Regions from separate parts of the Homo sapiens genome. Here all the other regions are linked to region 1. The links are contacts of gene promoters, found by promoter capture Hi-C in blood cells and fetal thymus (Javierre and others, 2016). All regions are on one chromosome and are shown on one strand. Each heading gives the region's core, a stretch centred on a gene start or on the middle of the fragment in contact. The rest is flanking DNA. Distances are from core to core; before and after follow the strand shown. Region 1 holds the start of IFNGR1 (interferon gamma receptor 1). Region 2 overlaps WAKMAR2 (wound and keratinocyte migration associated lncRNA 2). Region 3 has its middle 38 kb from the start of LINC02865. Region 4 has its middle 14 kb from the start of LINC02865. Region 5 overlaps LINC02865 (long intergenic non-protein coding RNA 2865). Region 6 overlaps TNFAIP3 (TNF alpha induced protein 3). Region 7 overlaps WAKMAR2 (wound and keratinocyte migration associated lncRNA 2).

Evidence for each region. Contacts are between HindIII fragments. The CHiCAGO score rates a contact against its expected background, and 5 or more counts as called.
Region 2: a contact is called between a fragment that was not itself captured here and the fragment with the promoter of IFNGR1 in region 1, in 1 of 17 cell types (monocytes). The highest score is 8.4, in monocytes.
Region 3: a contact is called between a fragment that was not itself captured here and the fragment with the promoter of IFNGR1 in region 1, in 1 of 17 cell types (monocytes). The highest score is 5.8, in monocytes.
Region 4: a fragment that was not itself captured here is called in contact with the fragment with the promoter of IFNGR1 in region 1 in 3 of 17 cell types (monocytes, total B cells and M2 macrophages); the score reaches 8.9 in monocytes.
Region 5: a fragment that was not itself captured here is called in contact with the fragment with the promoter of IFNGR1 in region 1 in 4 of 17 cell types (neutrophils, fetal thymus, monocytes and 1 more); the score reaches 7.2 in neutrophils.
Region 6: a fragment that was not itself captured here is called in contact with the fragment with the promoter of IFNGR1 in region 1 in 1 of 17 cell types (monocytes); the score reaches 6.9 in monocytes.
Region 7: a contact is called between a fragment that was not itself captured here and the fragment with the promoter of IFNGR1 in region 1, in 2 of 17 cell types (monocytes and fetal thymus). The highest score is 5.5, in monocytes.

The regions. Positions count from the first base shown.
Region 1 is chr6:137,218,004-137,220,703 of GRCh38, reverse strand. It overlaps IFNGR1 (interferon gamma receptor 1), which reads left to right and starts at 1,319. Exons shown (of 7, transcript NM_000416.3): 1 at 1,319-1,461. The coding sequence starts at 1,377. RefSeq lists enhancers at 849-1,098, 949-1,679 and silencers at 1,139-1,368, 1,409-1,628, 2,089-2,138. The HindIII fragment of the contact is 10,215 bases long and covers 1-2,700 here.
Region 2 is chr6:137,829,386-137,832,265 of GRCh38, reverse strand. The region is part of intron 3 of WAKMAR2 (wound and keratinocyte migration associated lncRNA 2); the gene reads left to right. Among named protein-coding and RNA genes, the nearest start is that of TNFAIP3, 36 kb to the left of the region's middle. The HindIII fragment of the contact is 4,045 bases long and covers 1-2,880 here.
Region 3 is chr6:137,905,633-137,908,489 of GRCh38, reverse strand. No RefSeq gene overlaps it. Among named protein-coding and RNA genes, the nearest start is that of LINC02865, 38 kb to the left of the region's middle. The HindIII fragment of the contact is 10,000 bases long and covers 1-2,857 here.
Region 4 is chr6:137,930,234-137,932,933 of GRCh38, reverse strand. No RefSeq gene overlaps it. Among named protein-coding and RNA genes, the nearest start is that of LINC02865, 14 kb to the left of the region's middle. The HindIII fragment of the contact is 3,982 bases long and covers 1-2,700 here.
Region 5 is chr6:137,949,158-137,951,857 of GRCh38, reverse strand. LINC02865 (long intergenic non-protein coding RNA 2865) reads right to left here. Exons shown (of 2, transcript NR_174953.1): 2 at 55-717. Among named protein-coding and RNA genes, the nearest start is that of SIMALR, 4.7 kb to the right of the region's middle. The HindIII fragment of the contact is 1,379 bases long and covers 643-2,021 here.
Region 6 is chr6:137,881,189-137,883,888 of GRCh38, reverse strand. TNFAIP3 (TNF alpha induced protein 3) reads right to left here. Exons shown (of 9, transcript NM_001270508.2): 9 at 577-2,700. The coding sequence ends at 2,570. Among named protein-coding and RNA genes, the nearest start is that of WAKMAR2, 14 kb to the right of the region's middle. The HindIII fragment of the contact is 2,051 bases long and covers 315-2,365 here.
Region 7 is chr6:137,858,894-137,861,685 of GRCh38, reverse strand. All of the region lies in intron 3 of WAKMAR2 (wound and keratinocyte migration associated lncRNA 2), which reads left to right. Among named protein-coding and RNA genes, the nearest start is that of TNFAIP3, 7.0 kb to the left of the region's middle. The HindIII fragment of the contact is 2,381 bases long and covers 250-2,630 here.

The sequences.
Region 1 (2,700 bases), core at 70-2,569:
ATTTATCCTTGCATCCTTACAACGACTAGAAGGTGTCTTTCATATAGTGGACATCAGAAACACATCAAAGGAAATATTCTCCCTAAACTTAGTCTAGATTGAGCTAAATTCTTCTGATTCAAAGTGTGGTCCTGTTGAAAGGGGCACCAGCATCCCCTGTGCATTTTGTCCGAAATACAAAATCTCAAGACCCAACCTGAATTAGAACTACTGAATCCAAATCTGCATTTTATCAAGATCCCCAGATGGTTCACATGTATGTTGAAGTTTGAGAAGTACTGAGCTAAGAGATTTATTAATACAAGTAAAATGATCTGGCTGATAATACCTCTAGTTTATATAGTGTCTTTATAAGGATTTTCCCTCTTTAAAAATTTTCCTTAACACTAGTAATCATGCAGTCTTTCACTCAACAAATACTAATTGAGTGCCAAGTAAAGATGTCAGCTCTACGGAGCTTACATTTTAGAAGGAGAAGAAAACAAATATCAAGGTGTATATTATAGTGTACAGCAAGGTGAAAAGTGCCATGAAAAAACAGTAGGGCGGGGTAAGGAGGAGGAGAAGGTGTGTTGCAATTTAAAATTTTTAACAAAAGTTCATGATACTCAGAGAATTGAAACAGGTGAGATCATTAGACATTCGCATGTTTGAGCACAAGCGCTGAAGGACTTAGCAATGTGGCTGCAGTGGAATAGGAGAGATGCAAAATAACAGACAAACCCAGAGAGGTAAGAGAGCAGACCTCTTCATGAGAGGCTGCCTGATAAACTGATTTGACACTGAATTGCTGAGAAGGTAATGCAAATAGTTTTTTTCTCCAAGAACAAAGTAGTTCTTGGTCAAGCCGATTTGATTTGGGCTGTGGGAATCTGCACAAACCATTTCACTAGCTAAGTCTCAGGTTCCTCAAATGAAAAAGCAGGGACTGGAAATGGCTTTTGAAGTCTCATTCTCTTCTAAAAATGTCAGGCTCCAAGACAACCAGGTGAAGTCCAAGAGTTAGTAAAATAAGGATTGTGGCTCGGCTGTGGCCTAATGCAAACTTGCACAACCCCAGGAAACCGAAAAAAACTGGAAGAAGAATTGCAGAATGGGGTGCCAGGTTGAAAGACCTTAACCTTTGCACTCAAATTCCTCCCACACCCAGAAGTCCAGGTCCCGACCGCACGACGCCGTGCTCACTGCTGGGTGCTGCGCCTGAGTCCGCCTCCTGCGGCTTCCCGGACTTGACCCCGCCCACGCCCTGGTCCCGCCTCCTGCCGACGCCGGCACAGACCCCGGTGACGGAAGTGACGTAAGGCCGGGGCTGGAGGGCAGTGCTGGGCTGGTCCCGCAGGCGCTCGGGGTTGGAGCCAGCGACCGTCGGTAGCAGCATGGCTCTCCTCTTTCTCCTACCCCTTGTCATGCAGGGTGTGAGCAGGGCTGAGATGGGCACCGCGGATCTGGGGCCGTCCTCAGGTACCGTCGTTCGCGGCAGGGCTGCGGCCGGGTCGGGACGAGAGGGAGGGAGGGATCCGCCCCAGCCGGGAAGCCCCGCCCCGCTTCTCCGAGGTCGCCCTAGCCCGGGACCCCTGCGTCGGGCCCTGAGCGGGCGACGGGGACGCGAGGTGGGGTCGCGAGACTGGGGCTCCGTGGTTTGAACTCGTCGGTTGCCTTTCTCCTGCCTCTTCCCTGGTTGCCGCCACAACAAATCACGCCGCTTGTTTTTCCGACTCTTGTAATCCACTTTTAAATACGATTATGCGCTGCAGAAGGACGTTGCTGGTCAATGTGGGACAGCGTGGTCTCAAAGATTATAATATCGTCTTCTTACTGTACCTTTTTTTATGGTTAGATACGCAGATACTCACTAGTATGCTACGGTTGCCTGCAGTGTTCAGTGCAGTGACAGGCTGTACAGGTTCATGACCTAAGAGCAGTAGGCTGTGTCATCTGGGTTTGTCTGGGTTTCTACTGCCCGAAGAAATTGCCTAAGGGGACATTTCTCCATTTCTCAGAACGGATCTCCATCGTTAAGTGACGCATGACTGTGAGTGTCCTGATCAGCATGTGGCATCGTGGTCTCAGTTCGTGGCTTAAATACTTCTTTCTTAGCGGGGGTGGGGGGGGGGACTCAAAGTGCTTAGGGTAGGAAAGTATGCATTATGTCGCCAGCTGAGAAGTAAGTGGCAGCTGAGAAGTAAGTGGCAGTCCGTCTTAGGTCTCAGTCTGGAAGTGGTGGATTGCCGGCACTCACTAGCAGATTTGGCAGTAGGTCTCTTCGTACGGGTTTGTTCTTCGGAGCATTTTATTTCCACCTGCTTATTGACATTTCCTAGAAAACAAATGTTGAGGGTGGCTTTTCTGAAGTGCAGAGTAATTGTGATTACGAGCTCCAGAGAAAACAGTAAACCTTTTCAATTCAGTTTTCTTTTTTTTATTATGATTTATGATTCATAGGGACTTTGAAAGGTCCACGTTTTGGTTCTGTGTTCACAACAATCTTCTGGAGTAGGCGTTATTTGTCTCTCTCTTTATGGACGAGAAATTGAGTTACGGAGAGGCCTGCCCAACTGGCAGAGAGGTCATAGCCACTCAGTGGGGAGCTGCTCAATTTGGCTCCAGAGTCCAAGTTCTTAACTGCTCTTCTAGGCTCTAGTCAGTCATCCACATGGGCAGTTGCAGTACTTTGCGGTAAGAGCTTGCACTTAGGCACAG
Region 2 (2,880 bases), core at 196-2,695, 610 kb before region 1:
CCAGGTCAGACTGAACATAAAAACGGGGGAGAAAAGGAAGAAATCCTCCTAAAAGCACATTGTACCTGGTAAAAAATTATTGTCATGCTTTAGAATTTTGAGAATCAACCCACTGAAACATTTTATACTTAAAATTCCAAAGAGATTGCCATATCAAGTCCCTACCATAAACTTTCCTGCATTATATTAAGTATTTTTGGGTTTATTTATTTTGTTGAACACCTATTCTTTAAGTTGGTTTATAACTTCCTTGGTGGGTATTTTTTTTTCTGAAGAAATGTTTCTAACATCTCAAGATTCATATTACTTAAGGTACTTTTTATAGGTATCTACATTCTAATGAAATACAAAGAATAGAATTTATCTGAAAAAAACATAAGCCATCAAATCGTTTTGTCAGAGCTGATCTATATGGGTGATAGGTCTGAATATGCTTATAGATCACAGCTATGCACCTTAATCATTGAAGGGGTCCTGGAAGGGGAATTTATGTTATCACAGAGAGCAATAAAAGCCAGGGGACAATCAAATGAAAATCCTTTTCCTTTCATAAATAACTTAATAATTAGCATTTATGAGAATAACTGAGTAATTCTGGCTATTAACCAAACCTTTTTTTATCGTGTTTTATGGCCCAGGCTTGGCTGACAAGTTGCCTAACCATGAGTGTATATATATATTTTTTTTTTCTGCTGTCACTACCACCTGTTTTAGACTTTGCTTTCATTTTTTTTTTTTTTTGGTGTTATCTTTTGCTCTCACAGGCAAAAAAATGCTTAATTTGTAGGAAATACAATTTCTTGCAAATAAAAAATAAAATTCAGGTTCATGAGCCCTGAATTTATATGCCAACTTTAGAGCTTTTTAGCAGTGGGATTTGGGCTACTTACTTAACAGACTCCCTCCCTCTGCTCCCCCTCCTCACAAAGTCATCCTTACATCTAAAATGCAGGTAATTAGACTGACCACCTAGAGTTGTAATGGGCAGATGTGAAAACATAATGCTAAGTTTCCAGCATCATGGTAAATGAACAAATGGTAATGTCCTCCAGTAGAAAGTCAATATGGCCTACAAGAAAGGGCAGGGGGAAGGGGCTCCCAAGACCCACATTGAAGTCCTGGCTCTAGCACTTACTAGCTGCCCAGGTTGGGAATTCTCCTAAACCTTCTCTGCATCTCAGTTTCTTCATTTGTAAAATGGGCAGAATATTCCTTAATCTACCTCTCTAAGTGGCTTAAAGGAAATAACTTTGTGAAACTGCCTTATAAAAATGATGAGATATTAAAATATTAATAATATGATGACAAAGTTTTTGGAGTTAATTTTTTCCCTCTGGGGAACAGTATTTTTTCAATGATAGTTCAATGGTTCCCTTTTGCTGAAGGTAGTGGCATTTCTCTTTTTTTTTTTTTTTCTGAATGACTCAGTTGGCACTTGTTATGAGCTATCTTGTAGGTTTTCTTTTCTTTTTTTTTTTTTTGGCACCTCAACTCTGTTTTAATCTTTTCAAGAGTAAAGACTCAATTTTAAACCTTGTGGGCTGCATGCTGAGATCTCTTAGGTGGGGCTGAAGGGGAAATCCTCCCTGGGGCACCATACTTAGTGTGAGAAGGGCCAGGGTTGTGGAGTGGAGCAGAGATGGCCTTCAGAGAGAAGAGGAAAGAAAAACAGGAACTTTGATGACATGGAGAAATTCTGAGATGCAGGGGAATATTGAGGGGCTTCCATGGACTTGCCTTGATCTTAGTAAGAAAGAAGGCCAATAAGATGAGGGAAAGAGAGTGGAAGGGAGTTGGGATCTTAGGGGCTGTATATCAAAGTGTCATGTTAACAGGATAACTAGCATATAGCTGACACTAAAAAAGTTTCGTAACTTTGAGATGAGTAGAAAATATTATTTTGTTATTTCATTATTCATGTCATATAATATTAGCATAGATAATAACATATATAATAATAGTAACAGCATGTATTAGGTACTTATGTCATATGTTTTGAACTTTACGCCTATCCTTTGATTTAATACTGAGAACAGCCTTACTAAGTAGATGCTATGATTATCTTTATTTTAAAGATGTGAAAACTGAAACTTTGGAAGGAAGTTCTGAAACACTATTGTGGGGCATAGAGTATCAAGTTTAGTAAGGAAAAGAAAAATGATTATAAGAGAGAATCGAGGGTCCAACTGAAGATGGATGGCATGAGTTTAAGACAAAACTCTCAGCACAATTCCATGTTTACCTCAGCCATGTTCTGCAACTTGGAGCAGTTGGTTGAGCTGACTGAGACTTCGAATACAATGGTTAGGAAAACAGTAACCTCTTTGCGTTCCACGTTGGACTTAATGACTATGAGTCATGTCATATATAGGAGGCAAGTTTTTCAGTGGAGATAGGAACAACTGAAATATGTTCTTCAGCCTAGTGGAGACAAGTAATTGTCATTGGCTGGTGAGTGTTTCAGATACTTCAAAGCATGGGTTGTGCTTCACCCCACCCTCTCTAGCTAAACTCCTTGGCTAATGGCCTGCATGATCTTAACTTCATTCCGGAAATACTGGTTAAGAGGATTTGGGACAGGCCATTTGGAGGCTGGTGAACCTGACAACTTACACAACCTACATTTGCAAAGCCCAGTTATTTTCTGACTAATGGGTCAGAAAGAGGGGGCAGAAGAGGAGAGAGAAATCTTCACCAAACAAACAGCCAGGCCATCTGGGTGGAGTTGCTTAAGGCAGTCACAAAAAAATGATCACATCATTTACCTCTCATTTAACAAGGGCAGAGCAGGGATACTAGCTGTGAGACACTTCTGCTCCGGGAAAGGTAGGAGCATTTGTACAATCTTTCCAGTATAGGGGAAGGGGGACATGGGAGTAG
Region 3 (2,857 bases), core at 216-2,715, 690 kb before region 1:
TTACAGAATGGATCAGATACACACTTGGTGGGAGTATATATTGGAACAAAATCTCTGGAAGATAATTTGGCAATGCTATTTAAAAAATGTAAAATTTTGCATTCTAATTCCAGAAACTTATTCTGAGGGAATCATCATAGGATGATAGAAAGTCATAACTATTTATAATAGCAAAATATTGAATGCAGCACATATGCAATAAAACTAATTAATTATAATACATACAATGAAATATACAATGCATTCATCAAAAATAATGTGGCAGAAGAATTTTCAGTAATGTCAAAGAAATGGTTACATATATCGTTTGTGAAAAATATTAGGTTGCATAACTGCATGTACAATATGACCTGTTTGTGTTAAAAATATGTATTTATTATTTTAAAAAGCCTAAATGAGTATAATATCAAAACATTTACAGTAGTTATTCACCAGAAAGCAAAATCTTTGAAAATAGGAAATAAGTAGTGCATTTAGATCACATGGTAAGTAATTTAAAACTATGTTATTGAATTCTAATTAATTGTGTGATGGGATTATGGGCATTTTGATTTTCTTATGTCTATTCTCTAAGTTTTCTGAACAAATAAATATTACTTAAATGAGAAAACAGATCAAAATTTATATATATTGACAGAGAAATGAAATAAATATATAAAATAAAATTGATTTTTAAGTGGTAAAATAACAATAATGAACACTGTTTGGGTCTTTAATGTATCTTTCAACACACACACACACACACACACACACATCTTGACAGTCACCCATCAGATGATATAATTGTGTTTATGAAGAACCCAAAAGAATCCATAGATATTAAAACACAAATATTTATATAAAAGTCAATTGCATTTTTATATAACAGCAAACAAGTTAAAAAAAGAAACCAGCCTATAATCTCAGCTACTTGGGAGGCTGAGGCAGAAGGATGGCTTGAGTTCAGAGGTTTGACCTGATCAATATGGCGAGACCCTATCTCTTTAAAAAAAAAAAGGAAAGAAAAAGAAACCAAAAAATATATTTTTTAAAGGCAGCAGTCACAAAAGCAAACAAGTTAGAAAAGGAAACCAAATTGAAAAAAAAAAGACAATAGTCACAAAAGCAGTTAAAAACATAAGATACATAGAAAAACCTTTTTCAAGAGAGGAGCAAGAATGTTATGGAGAAGATTGTAATATTTTAACTATAGAGCCCACGTGGTCTGGTTTCAGACTGTGGCTCCCCTGAATTCATGGAAAAAATAAAATCAGATTCCTGCCTATTCTTACCATATCCCTAAATCAATTTCAGAGACATTAAACATTTAAATATGTAAACCAAAACAAAACATTTCAGATGAATAACACCTCTGGAAATAAAAAGATTTCTTAAATAAGGTTTTTACTCATAAAGGAAAAAAATTAAAATTTGACAATGTTTAAACTTAAGACTTTCTCTGAGAAGTCAGCTGAAAATTTGGAGAAGATATTTGCAACATGTATGCCAACAAAAAGAGTAATAAAAATATATAAAGGCAGCCCACAAATTAGTAAGAAAATGAGCAGCAAACAGAACAGTAGAAAAACGATGGGAAAATTTTTTTTCAAAATATAAAAAAAGTAATTGACACGGTTATGTAAGACTGAACTTCACACACCCTTCAATCTGCATTTTATTCCTGGATATATACCCAAAAGAAATTTTAGCATGTGTGTACCAGGAGACTTGGACAAGAATATCTATTTGATTTGTAACAGCAAAAACCTGAAGCGACACAGATCCAGGCAAATGAGATAATAGGTAAATAAGTGTGGTATAGTCATACAGTTGACTACTGTATAGCAGTGAAGATTAAGAACTATACACTATAGTCATCAACGTAGGTGGTACTGAATTAAAAGAGCAAGTTACAAAAGAATAATTATATAAAGTTCAAAGCCAAGCAAAATCAAATAGTACAGTGTTTAGGGATAAATGCCTATGTGGTAAAACTAAAAAGAAAAATGAAGAAATAATAAACCCAGTTTTTTTCTCAAGAAGCCTACTTTCTAACTGGGGAGGTGGCTCACTCACATGCACTAAACCATGTCTCTGGATTGGGGAAGATGAATAGATTGGGAGAAAGGTACACAAGGCTTCAAAGGTGTTGCTAATGTCTGATTTCTTAAGCTCAGTGGTGGGTATGCAAGTATCCATTTTATTATTATTCTTAGGCCTTATACTTAGGTTATAAATATGCTTTTTGTATTATTTATTTACAGTTTTTCGTTACTGAACAGAAACATTCAAAATGAGGGAAAACTTTATTAGAACCAGTTTGAGCAGTCTACACATTTCTCTTAGAGACACCATAGGATGGGTTTTTGAGATAGAGAGTTAGGATTTTTAAACATGACTGTGCACATTTCTGAGACCCAGTTTTCTTGTTTGTCAAATGGGGATAATACTTAACACATAATGTATTGTTAGGATGAAATTTGATCATATATATTTTTATAAACCCTAGCTTATGGACTGTCATATATTAAGTATGTAATATATACAGGTCATTGTTATTATTATTAAAATATAATATTACAGTAGTGAAGAGTTCTTTAAAAATAAACAGAAATAGAAATTACAGTTGGTCTTTTGAAATGAAACATACTGAGGTTATATTAAATGAATGCTGCATTATTTATAATATTGCTCTCGAATGTGAGGAGTATGTATGTGAGGAGTATGTTTTATTCGAAGGACTAAAAATAACTGCTGTACATCATCTAAACTTTCTCACATTTTGCATGGGACATTTACACATAATGTGTATTTTGTCCATCACATCAGGCTTGATTACTAACAATTACTACGGGTCTTCAGAGAACCGGCATTGAAG
Region 4 (2,700 bases), core at 52-2,551, 710 kb before region 1:
TGACTTATAAAGAATTCTGCTATAAGTCAAATTATTTAAACCTAGCCTAGCAATTATCTTTCTTTTTCCTTGTTCCTGAAAGGTAGGATTTTGTACACAACTTGCTACTAAGTACAGCTGCAATTTGATTAGGAGCCTTAACCCTTGAAAATAGTCCTTTACTGCAAAAAAGCATCATAAAGAAACACCTTTTATGTCTTCTGAATAATAAAAGGGAAAATTCATATTCTTACATTTCTTTGAACAGAAACATGTCTAAATGCTTCAAGTCACATGTTTAAAAGACAGTGGAACAAAGTATTTAGACTACATCTGATAGACAAAGTATTGGCAATTTATAAAACAGCCCCTCAAGATAAACAAAAGACAATCCAAAATAAAAGTGGCCAAATGACATAAACAGGCAATTCCTAGAAGTGAACATGCAAATGATTAATAAACATATGAAATTTAAAAAACAATGAGGTACATTTGCACCCAACAAATAGTGCACAATGAAAAAGACTGATAATATGTAATACTAATAAGAATATGGGAAAATAAGCAGGCTCATATATTGGTAGTTGGGAGTACAAATTATTGCAATCTTTTTGGAAAGACTCTGTGGGCCACAGTAATTCTAAATATTAGTGCCAGAAAGGATGGTGACTACCATCTTCATTCACTTATTCATGAAACAAATATTTACTGCACGCCTACTTTGTGCCAGGGATACAGACTTACATCTGTAAAATAAATCTCTGCTCCTGTGGAGTTCACATTTATTGCGGGACAGACAGACAATAGCCATAATAAATAAGTACAGTGCATAGAGTATAAGGAAGTGATACGTACGATGGAAAAAACACAGCAGGCCAGGGAAAACCTGTAATATTGATATGAGTGTGTGGGCAGCAACTTCAGATAGGGAGTCTGTATAGGTCTGGACTGAGAAAGTGAAATCTGAGCTAAGACTTGAAGGAAATAGGGAGTAGCTATGAGGATGCACAGGCGAATAAGGTTCCAGGCAGAGGAAACAGCCGGTATAAACATAAATAAGTAAAAATAACAAAGTGATTGAATACAAATATAAAGATGTAAGTGAAAGAAGAGTGGATGGAGACTGCTCCTTTCCCTTCCAAGGTTAACAGTTTCCTTTCTGCATATTTTCTTCATTTATTTATTCAGTTAATGGGATCTGTGTCTGTAACATCTAGGAGGGTGTGTTGATCTGTCAATTATCAAAAAGATAGTCTTACTTTTGGTCAATCAGGCACGGTCACAGAGTCCAGAGACTTTTGGCAAGCTACTTCCTTTTTTTTCCCATGAAATCGGTCATCAATCCATACAGAGTCCACCTGCAATAAGAGTAGCTTGAGTGGAATCACTGAATCTCCTCCTTATCTGGTCCCCTCTCTTGTCTCCTTGGAGCTTTTTTCTACTCATCTGCCTACCCTCAGAATCTTCTGGCAGCTTCAGAGCCTAAAGATTTTGCCAACTCCTTTAAGTCCTTCATATTGTTCAGTGAAGAACCCTTATGAGGGCAACAGACTTATCTCTTGTTAGTGTGAACTTCTGTTATAGCATTCAATTGTGGCATTAATTTTGCTAACAAAAATGCTATTACATTATTCTGTCCAATCAGAGACGTCTATAATCATATAGTGGTAATAATTACATCTGACAACATTACGATAGATTTTTCTGTATTCCTTTACCATCTCTTCTGACCATTTCTCATACTTCACAAGTTTTCTAAATTTCTTTTGAGGTATAACGTACTTTTTAGTATAGAGTTTGTTGGATTTTAAAATAAACATGCCCTATTTACCTCCCAGATTAACACTGCCAGCACCCCAGAAGCCTCTCTCTCATGCCTCCTTTCAGTCAATAACCACCCTAAGGTAGCCAATATTCTAATTTGGATCACCATATGTTAATTTTTGACTGGTCTTTAGACTTTATATAAATGGAATCGTTTTGTAAGTACTCTTTGTATAACATTATGTTTGTGAAATATATCACTTTTGTAGATAGCCATAGTTTGGCCGGGCATGGTGGCTCATACCTGTAATCCCAGCACTTTCGGAGGCCGAGGAGGGCGAATCATGAGGTCAGGAGTTCAAGACCAGCCTGGCCAACATGGTGAAACCCAATCTCTACTAAAAATGCAAAAAATTAGATGGGTGTAGTGGCGGGTGCCTGTAATCCCAGCTACTCAGGAGGCTGAGGCAGGAGAATCACTTGAACCCAGGAGGTGGAGGTGGCAGTGAGCCAAGATTGTGCCACTGCACTCCAGCCCGGGCGACAGAGTGAGACTCCATCTCAAAAAAAAAAAAAAAAAAATGCTGGGCATGGTGGCTCACGCCTATAATCACAGCACTTTGGGATCGCTTGAACTGAGGAGATGGAGGTTGCAGTGAGCTGAGATTGCGCCACTGCACTCCAGCCTGGGCAACAAGAGCGAAACTCCATCTCAAAAAAAAAAAAAAAGCAATAGTTTGTTCTTTGTCATCATTGTATAGTATTCCATTGTATAACTATACCAAGATTTATTTGTTCTACTGTTGACAGACATTTGGGTGGGTTTCAGTTTTTGGCAATTGTGTGTAAAACTGTTATAAACATTCTTTAACATACTGCTTTGTGAATATATGCATTTATCCTCCCAGGCAGAGAGAGTGGCACATTTCTACTGTAAAAGGTCAAAGAGTAAATCCT
Region 5 (2,700 bases), core at 83-2,582, 730 kb before region 1:
TTCCAAATGAACTTCTATCAGTCTGAGTTCAAGCAAGAGACAGAAACCACATAGTAATGTAAAGCAAGAGAAGTTTAATATAAAAAATTATTCGACAGTGATAGAAGAATAACTATAACAATGTAAAGAGAACTTTCAAGGGTATCCGAGGATTGAGGGAGAGTACCCAAGGAAAGACAACTCGGAAAGACGGTTCTCTCCTTAAGGCTGGGGTCAGGCCTTGTTGGAGAAGGTGTGTTTGCAGTCCACTAGATGTCAGAGAAGCCTGCTGTTTTCCAGGACCAGGAGCTGGTCCATAGCTGCTGGGCAAATAGGATGCAATTTCTTGGAGCACAGGCAAACTGAGGCTGTGGCTAAGTGCACAGTCAGGCCACTGCTGGGGACGTGAGGCCTGGAGCACACAGTGCCTGTGTTGCAGGGCTGTGAGAAGGTGGCCACAGGCTCAGAATCAGGCCAAATAGTCAGTGAGGGATGTGCCTCTGGGCAGGTGGTAGGGCAGGGCACAGCGGGATGGTCTTATACATAGTACCACTGATGGATAATGCAGCTGGAGCAAGAAGAAGAAAAGTAGCACACCAAAATCAGGAAGAGAAACTCGCTTTCTTCTGCAATGCTGCTCCAGTGGCATCTGCTGACAAAGCTTAGCATTGTGCTCACTGTAAAGGAGAAATGCTTAAAGGGTCCATTGCATATTTGTAGAGCAGCTGCTGAAGAAATCTGGAACAAAGAGGTAATAAATTGAAAACTGGCATAGCACTGGTAGAATTAGTGAAATATAAATTCATGTTAAATCTCTGCTGATTCCTAGTTGATTTTTATCGTTATATATTTTTAATGAACAGATTTTTATTGTTATATATTTCTCAATTAACAGATATAAAGAAGATGACAATTAGCGTGTGGGGAGTCCCCAAGACATTTTGATGTTAAACGTGGGTCCTTCTTCTTGACAAGGTGGGAATATGCTGCTCTAGCAAGATTGCAATGATGAATCCCAGGTGATGCCCACCTGTTGGCTTGAATCTAAAATAGCCTCTTCCTGTCCAGCTGTCGGGTTTCTGTAACTTGTACTATTAACTCTAGTGTGAATCATTTGCATAAATTATGGTTGCAATTCTTGAGCTCCTGGTGTATCACTTCTGGACCTTCTGAGTCCCAGGATGCAATCAGCCCTGCAAATACCCGACCTTTTCTCTAACTACCTGTTCATTGTCTCAAAAAGCGGTCTGGCCGTTTGTCCTTCTCACAAGCTAGGACAGTTGATTGAATGAACGAGTGAATGAATGAATGCCTGTCCCCCTCCTCCATGGTTTTGAGAATTATTATTAAAAATGCATATAAAGCCTATGTGGAAATGTACCAAGCAGCATAAATCATCATAATTGCTATTACTGATAATAGCCACACTTTTAAACAAGGCTTTATTTGCCTTTCAGTAGATCTCATTTGCAAATGGTGGTTTTTTTTTTTCTTTTTTAAATAAGTGGTTTCTACTTATAACCAAGCTCAATGGTAACTAAGCAATTCAAGAATTCTGTGGCATATGCATTATCAACAAAACTCTGTTTTTAGACTCTACTCACTTGCAAACCCATGTCTAAACATTGCAGCTATAGCAACATGCAGGCCCAGGTGCTAAATCACCTGGTTGGGAAGACAGAAACCATCTCACATTGCATCTAAGAACTCTGACCTGAATGACATTTTCCAGGAAGTAGGTGAGAGTAGGGGAGAGGAAAGAAGAAGGGAGAATTAAGAGCAAAAGTTAGTTTCATTTAAACTGAAACAAGTAGGTCAGCTGACATTGTGCTAAGTGAGTCCGCTCACTTTTCAGGTTAAAGTTTTTCCTTAAACTCAGATTTTTTGGTAAAAGAAAAAAGAACAAGACAACTCCAGGATACAAATTGTGAAACTTGTAATGATGATGTGATACCTTAATTTGGTTAAAATGCATGACAATATAAGTCAGGACAACCTTTGGCTGACACAAATGAGGAGTTATGCTCAAGTGCACAAAAGCTTTCCCATGAGCCACTTGTTTTTGGTTTTAATAAGGCTTCATCTCTTTAAGTGGATTACCAGTAAATTCTTCTGATAGTTAATACTAGAAAACAAATGGGAAGCTTGAGGTTTTTCCCCACAAGATGGCTATTTCTAATATCAAGATTGTCACAGCTATTTGGGGGATGGCAGCACAAAGGCAAGAGAAAGCGTCAAAAAGTGTTTTGGGGTCGGGAAGTAACATGAAGAAACTCGTGCTTAAAGAAGAATATGTTTGCAGACTGGTGATGTACACAGCTAGGCAGCCTAATAAACCGATGTAGTAATTCAAGTATAAAAGCCCTCAGAAGTTAACTAGTCAAGCCCCTTTCTAGTACAAAGGAGGAAACTGAGCCCCAGAGATTAGAGAGGAACTTGCCTAAAATCTCTTACCTGGTTGTTGGCAGAGCTATGTCTAGTGACCAGACTAAAAAGTTTTGGCTGCTATTCTTTTCACCAAATGTCACTGAACTTTAGAGGTGACATGACATTCTCATTTTTAATATTTTATATTTTGAGGTGATCTAAGAGTTGCAGATCCCAGGGGATTATTTTTCCTTTAGGATCTTAGTTATAAATGTTCTTTTCTCTAACTGCAACCTCCTTATAGGTTTCCTCTCTCTTCCCTCCAAATCTACTCCAGTTTCTTTTCTTTTTCTT
Region 6 (2,700 bases), core at 91-2,590, 660 kb before region 1:
CATCCAGATCACCCGAGGAGCTTAAAAAAGTAGATTCTGGGAGCTGCGCAGTCCTGCTGAATCAGTCGTCTGTGAGTCCATTTGTACTGGATGGGAGGTGGGGATGAAGGCTTGCGCATGGAGGAATGTGTTATTTTTTAATTTCCTGGTTCTGGCAGCCAGCACAGCCACGCTGCCTCCTCTGCTTTGTCTGACCCAGGAGATCTTACATCAGTCTTCCTTCCTGCCTGCCTACTTCTCTCTTTCCTGTCTTTCCCTCCTCCTCCCTCTTGTTTTCTCTTTCTTCACTTTATAAAAGTTTAGGGCAGGAAGCTTAAAAGGGCCACAGGGTCCTAGCATCCCTTTCCTCTTCCCATCAGAGGAAGAGTGTCTTCATTGTCAAGCGGGGGCTTGTGCTTGAGGACTGGGCCTGGACCTCATACAGTTATTATTTATGAAAAGCTGCCTTGCTACCATGGATGAGAGATGTGTGCATTGCTCAGGTGCACCTCAAAATAAAGCTGCTTAGGAAGCACAGTCTTAATATCCAAGCCTTTCTTTTTCTTTCAGCATTCATCAATTGAAAACATCACAATCTGTTCTTAAATAATTTATTTTTTAATGTTGACTCTTGTGAAAAGTTACATTTATTTAGAAAAACTTGAAGAAATCCAACAAAGAATAGGTGGCTTTCTATTAGGGACAATTAAATGTGCAAATTTCAAATACTTTTTATAATAAGTATAAATAATTACTTTTTTTCACATTAAGAATGGAAATAATGATCAACACAAAATATTAAGATATCAACTTTAAGAGAATTAGATGAAAACACTGAAGTTTATTTGGTATCTTTGGAAAGAAATTATAAAGATTCGTCTGGGAAAAACTTAGGGGGCTCTAAGGGGAAAGTGTGCCTAATAGTATGAGTAAAGGCTGTGTAGAGTTATGGATCACAAATATTTTCAGGCCATAAGTACAGACCCCCAAAATGGCAGCCTTTATCTCTGGGGAAAATGCATTTCCCCTCCTTTTTTTTTTTTCTTCTAGAGCAAATATGACAGCAACCACAAAGCACACAGAGAAACTGTAAGCCAGCAACAGAAAGAGATTTCCTCATACTCATGGTTACTGGCTTTTGCTGTCCCAATACCAGGGTACCATGGGATGCAGGGGACTTCCCAGCCCCCCCAGGACACAGTGTTAACAGAAAATAAAACCATCACAAAAGGCCACATCTTTCCCTGTGACCATTGCCAGTCTCATCCCTGCTCCTTCCCTATCTCATCTCCAAGGAGGTAGGACACTCAGAGGCATTAACAGAACACAGAGTATAGTTTTTTATTACATAGCTGGAGTTTCATAAGGAGAAGCACGAAACATCGATGAATATGTATGTATACCTTGGATGCAATTCCTTCTTTCCTGGGGAGGCAAGCAAAAGTGTATCAAAGAGGCCAATTTACTCCCTGTGGTCAGGAACTTGCCCACAGCCTGACTCAAAGCAAGGATGTTCTCTCAGGAGAACACTGTGGCATTTTCCCCAGAGCTGAAGAAATATCTTCACTTAAATAATCTTGAAGTTTGTAATAAAATAAATAAAGTGAATTACACAAAAAGGACTAGAGCTCCCTTTAAAAAGGCAGCTGGTTGAGTTTATGCAAGCAGTGTATACACAAGCTCATGCCCCAACAACAACCAGAAAACAGGTTATTATTATTTAGCCTTCCTATTGTACTTCTAGGGCAGCATTTCAATATAATTTAAAAAAATCCCTCATACATAATGTAAGGGTATATTATATATGTACACACTTTTACTCCTCAGTTCAAGCTAACTTCTTTAGAAGTAAAGACAGTAATAACCCAAAGAGTTACACGTCTTCCCAGTAAAATATTCTAATTTTTTAAAAGGTGCATATTATAAAGAGCAGCTTGTTTTTCTGTCAATGTGAACATGTTCAGTCTCAGCAGCCTCAGAATCACAGTCCATGGATGGTTCTGCATTTCTGCCGGGTCCTCAGGAAAGGAACCGGGCAGGTAGGGAAAAACCATGAACTACAAACACTCTCTGAATACGTCCATTTTCCCTGAGCTTCCTTGAGCTTCTTGCAGAGGGCCTCGCTGCCATGAGGATCTGGCTTCACATCTCTGAGAGATGCTGGGGGAGGGGAGGTGGAATGGCTCTGGCTTCTCCAACCCACGCGACTTGTGTGTCTTTTCCCTTTCTCAGCCAAGACGATGAAGCAGTCCTGATGCGCAGGGTGCAGGGGCCTCGGCCAGTCCCCGCACACCTTCCAAGTCCAAAGAAGTTCCTGGCCTCCTGCTTGGTAGGAGAGGAGGAACCTTGGGCTGAATCTGACATCATCCCTTGCCAGTTACAAGCTTTGCTTTCTAAGGCCACCTGGGAACACTCCCGGGTTACCAAACCTGAGCATCGTGGGCACCACGAAGAGCTTATCTTTCCTCTCCTGCTCAGACACCCTTAAGCCCACTGTTGCAGTGGCAGCTGAGGGGTTCAGAGGATAGCACCATGATGACTGACAGCTCGAGGCCCCACTTCTTGCAGGAGGTGACCCACCTGTTTCCGGTTAGCCATACATCTGCTTGAACTGAAAGCATTCGTTGCAGTAGCCGTTGCACTTGGCATTGCCAAAATGATCACAGGCGGGGGCCCGGCAACGCTGCTTGGGGGGGTCTTCGGGGGCAGGCTCACCCCGGT
Region 7 (2,792 bases), core at 191-2,690, 640 kb before region 1:
TGTAACATTTATCACAATTGAAAATTCTTTATTTATCAGTTCAATTGTTTATCATCTACCTTTCCCTACTAGAATGAGACTCTTTGAGAGTCTATCATTGATGCTTGCCTATCATTGTACTCTGTACTCCCTGTGCCCAGAAATGTACGTGATACAAAACAGGCACTCAGTGAACAACAGTTTGTTAGATGAATGAAAGGATTGGGAGGAAGAATGAAAAGATACCTTTCCTTTAGACATTTCTAAGCTTGCAAATGCACAGGCAATGAGAACCACCTCTCTTCACTCCCTGGCATTTGAGGCTTTTTACGTAAAAATTTAAACTAATGATTATATTAGAAATTTTTAAATGTTTAAAAAAAGTATGTTGTAAAATTGAGGAAATATAGTATTTTGAGAGTCCAAACACGTTCATGCAGTTGATTGAGCCTAAGTGTTGGGTTAATCCTAGTAAGTGATTGATCTTTTTAGGTAGGTAAGGGAATAAACAGAAGATCAGAAAAGAAGAGGTACTACTATTACATTTTAAGTTTCCAAATATACTACTAAGTGTCTCTAGTAAAACTTAACTCATTGAAGAAGAAAATAGTCTGACTCTAAAAAAAGAGTGTGTGTTCCTGAGAAAGACTAAACCAGTTATTTTCTCCTTTCATGTTTGAATGAATAACCATCAGCAAGGGAGAGATGCACTGACCTTCTGCCAGGTATGTTTAGTATGGATGTTTCTATGCTGTTGACAAACAAAAAAAAAAAAAAAAAGAAAAAAGAAAAAAAAGCCAATCTCTGTAAAATATTTAAAGACATTTATTCTGAGCCAAATGTGAGGACCATGACCCATGACATAGCCTCAGGAGGTCCTGAGAACATGTATCCAAACACAGTGGTTGGGTTACAGCTTGATTTTACACAGTTTAGGGGGACAGAATTTATAGGCAGACATCAATCAGTGTATGTAACGTATATGTTCATTTGGTCCAGAAAGGTAGGACAACTTCAAGGAGGGTGTTGGGCTTACAGCTGATAGTTGAATTCAAAGGTGTTCTGATTGGCAGTTGGTTGAAACAGTTAAGTTTCTTTCTAAGGAGTTAAGACAGAAATGCTTAGGGTTAAGATAAGGAGGGTTGTGGAGGCCAAGGTTCTTGTTATGAAGATGAAGCCTTCTGGTAGCAGCCTTCAGAAAGAGTAATAGGTGGTAAATATCTCCTATCAGACCTTAAACGGTGCCAGACTCAGTTGAATATCTCCTGGATCAGGAAAAGACCTGGAAAGGAGAGAGAATTATCTACGGAATGGAGAGTTTCCTCACAACAGACAGCTTTGCCAGGTCATTTCAAAATGTATCAAATAAATATATTTTGAAGTAAAATACTTGGATTTCTTTCAGGGCCTCCTGTCACATTGCTATCTTATTGCTACAAAAAGTCTGTTTTGTCAGTCTTAAGATCTCTGTTTTAATGTTAATGCTGGTCAGTTGTGCCTGAATTCCAAAGAGAGGAGAGTATAATGAAGCATGTCCGACCCTCCCTTCCCATCATGGCCTGAACTAGTATTTTAGGTTTCTTTGAAATCCCCTCGGCTGAGAGTTGGGGGTCCATTCAGTGGTTCGGGGGCTTAGAATTTTATTTTTGTTTAGAATATTTATTATTCTTTTGTTTACAGCAAGTTGGCTGTTTTCCCATATTAATGTCTGGAAGTTTTAAAATGTTTTTTCATGCACTTTAATTTTTAAAAATTTATTTGTAAATGAACTTACATGCAAAAGTGTTCATCTTTTGTTTTATATTAATGGGAAAAATGTTTTAATTTTTCTTAACTGGTTCTGTTCTCATAAAATCCCTAGAATTTAGCCTTGTTGATTTCTAGTTTTTATTAGAGAGCATTTAGGCATTCAGGAGAAAAAGTTGGAATTGCCATATTTTTAGTATATGCTTTCCAGGGAGTAGGAGAGGGTTGGGGAGGGGTTCCTGAATTTTTCATATTTGAAATAAATCTACCAAATCTATCTTGAGACATGTTCAGCTCTCTGCAGAAAACAACTAGAGAAGCATTATACTTCATCTCTACAATGAAATGTAATTTTCTCTTGAAATAAGTTACTTTTATGATACCTTAAGAAGTACCTCTGGGAACACTCAACTTGTTACAATTCAGGTGTGAAATAAACCTGTAAGAAATGCCTTGATTCTTGAGGCTTTCATGGTTGGTTCTTAGGTTCTCTGGTTGAACCAAACAGTCATTGTTTGGTTGGTTCTCAATGGTGTCAAACATCCTAACTTGAGCAAGTATGGGATTTGAGATTTTTGCAAAAGATTTTTTATGTAAGAACTTAATTCATATATACATCTCTGGCTTTGAACTTCGAGAAAATTATTATACTTCTTGGGTGGCTGAAAAATTCTTGGCCTTAGGCATTTTAGCAATAATTGTTCAGAACTGCACAGCCTGCTATGTCTTATTCCCTTGCTACAGCTGTTTACTTTGTGATAACTGAACGAACAATGCGGAACTCTGGATGCTGCTATTTTCAAAGTGTCTTTCTAGTGCTAAATTGGATAATTTAAATAAAAAATTCACAACAGAACATTAATAACCTTCTAAACTAATGATCATTTACTCTAAGCCTTAAAGCTTCTGTTTGTCTGAGCTGATACCTGTTTTTTTTAATTTTCAAATTCTTAAAAGTTTTATTATTTTTTTAGAGACAAGGTCTCACTCTGTCACCCAGGCTGGAGTATGGTGGTGTGATCATGGCACACTGTGGCCTTCACCGACCCTTCTGCTTCAGCCTCCTG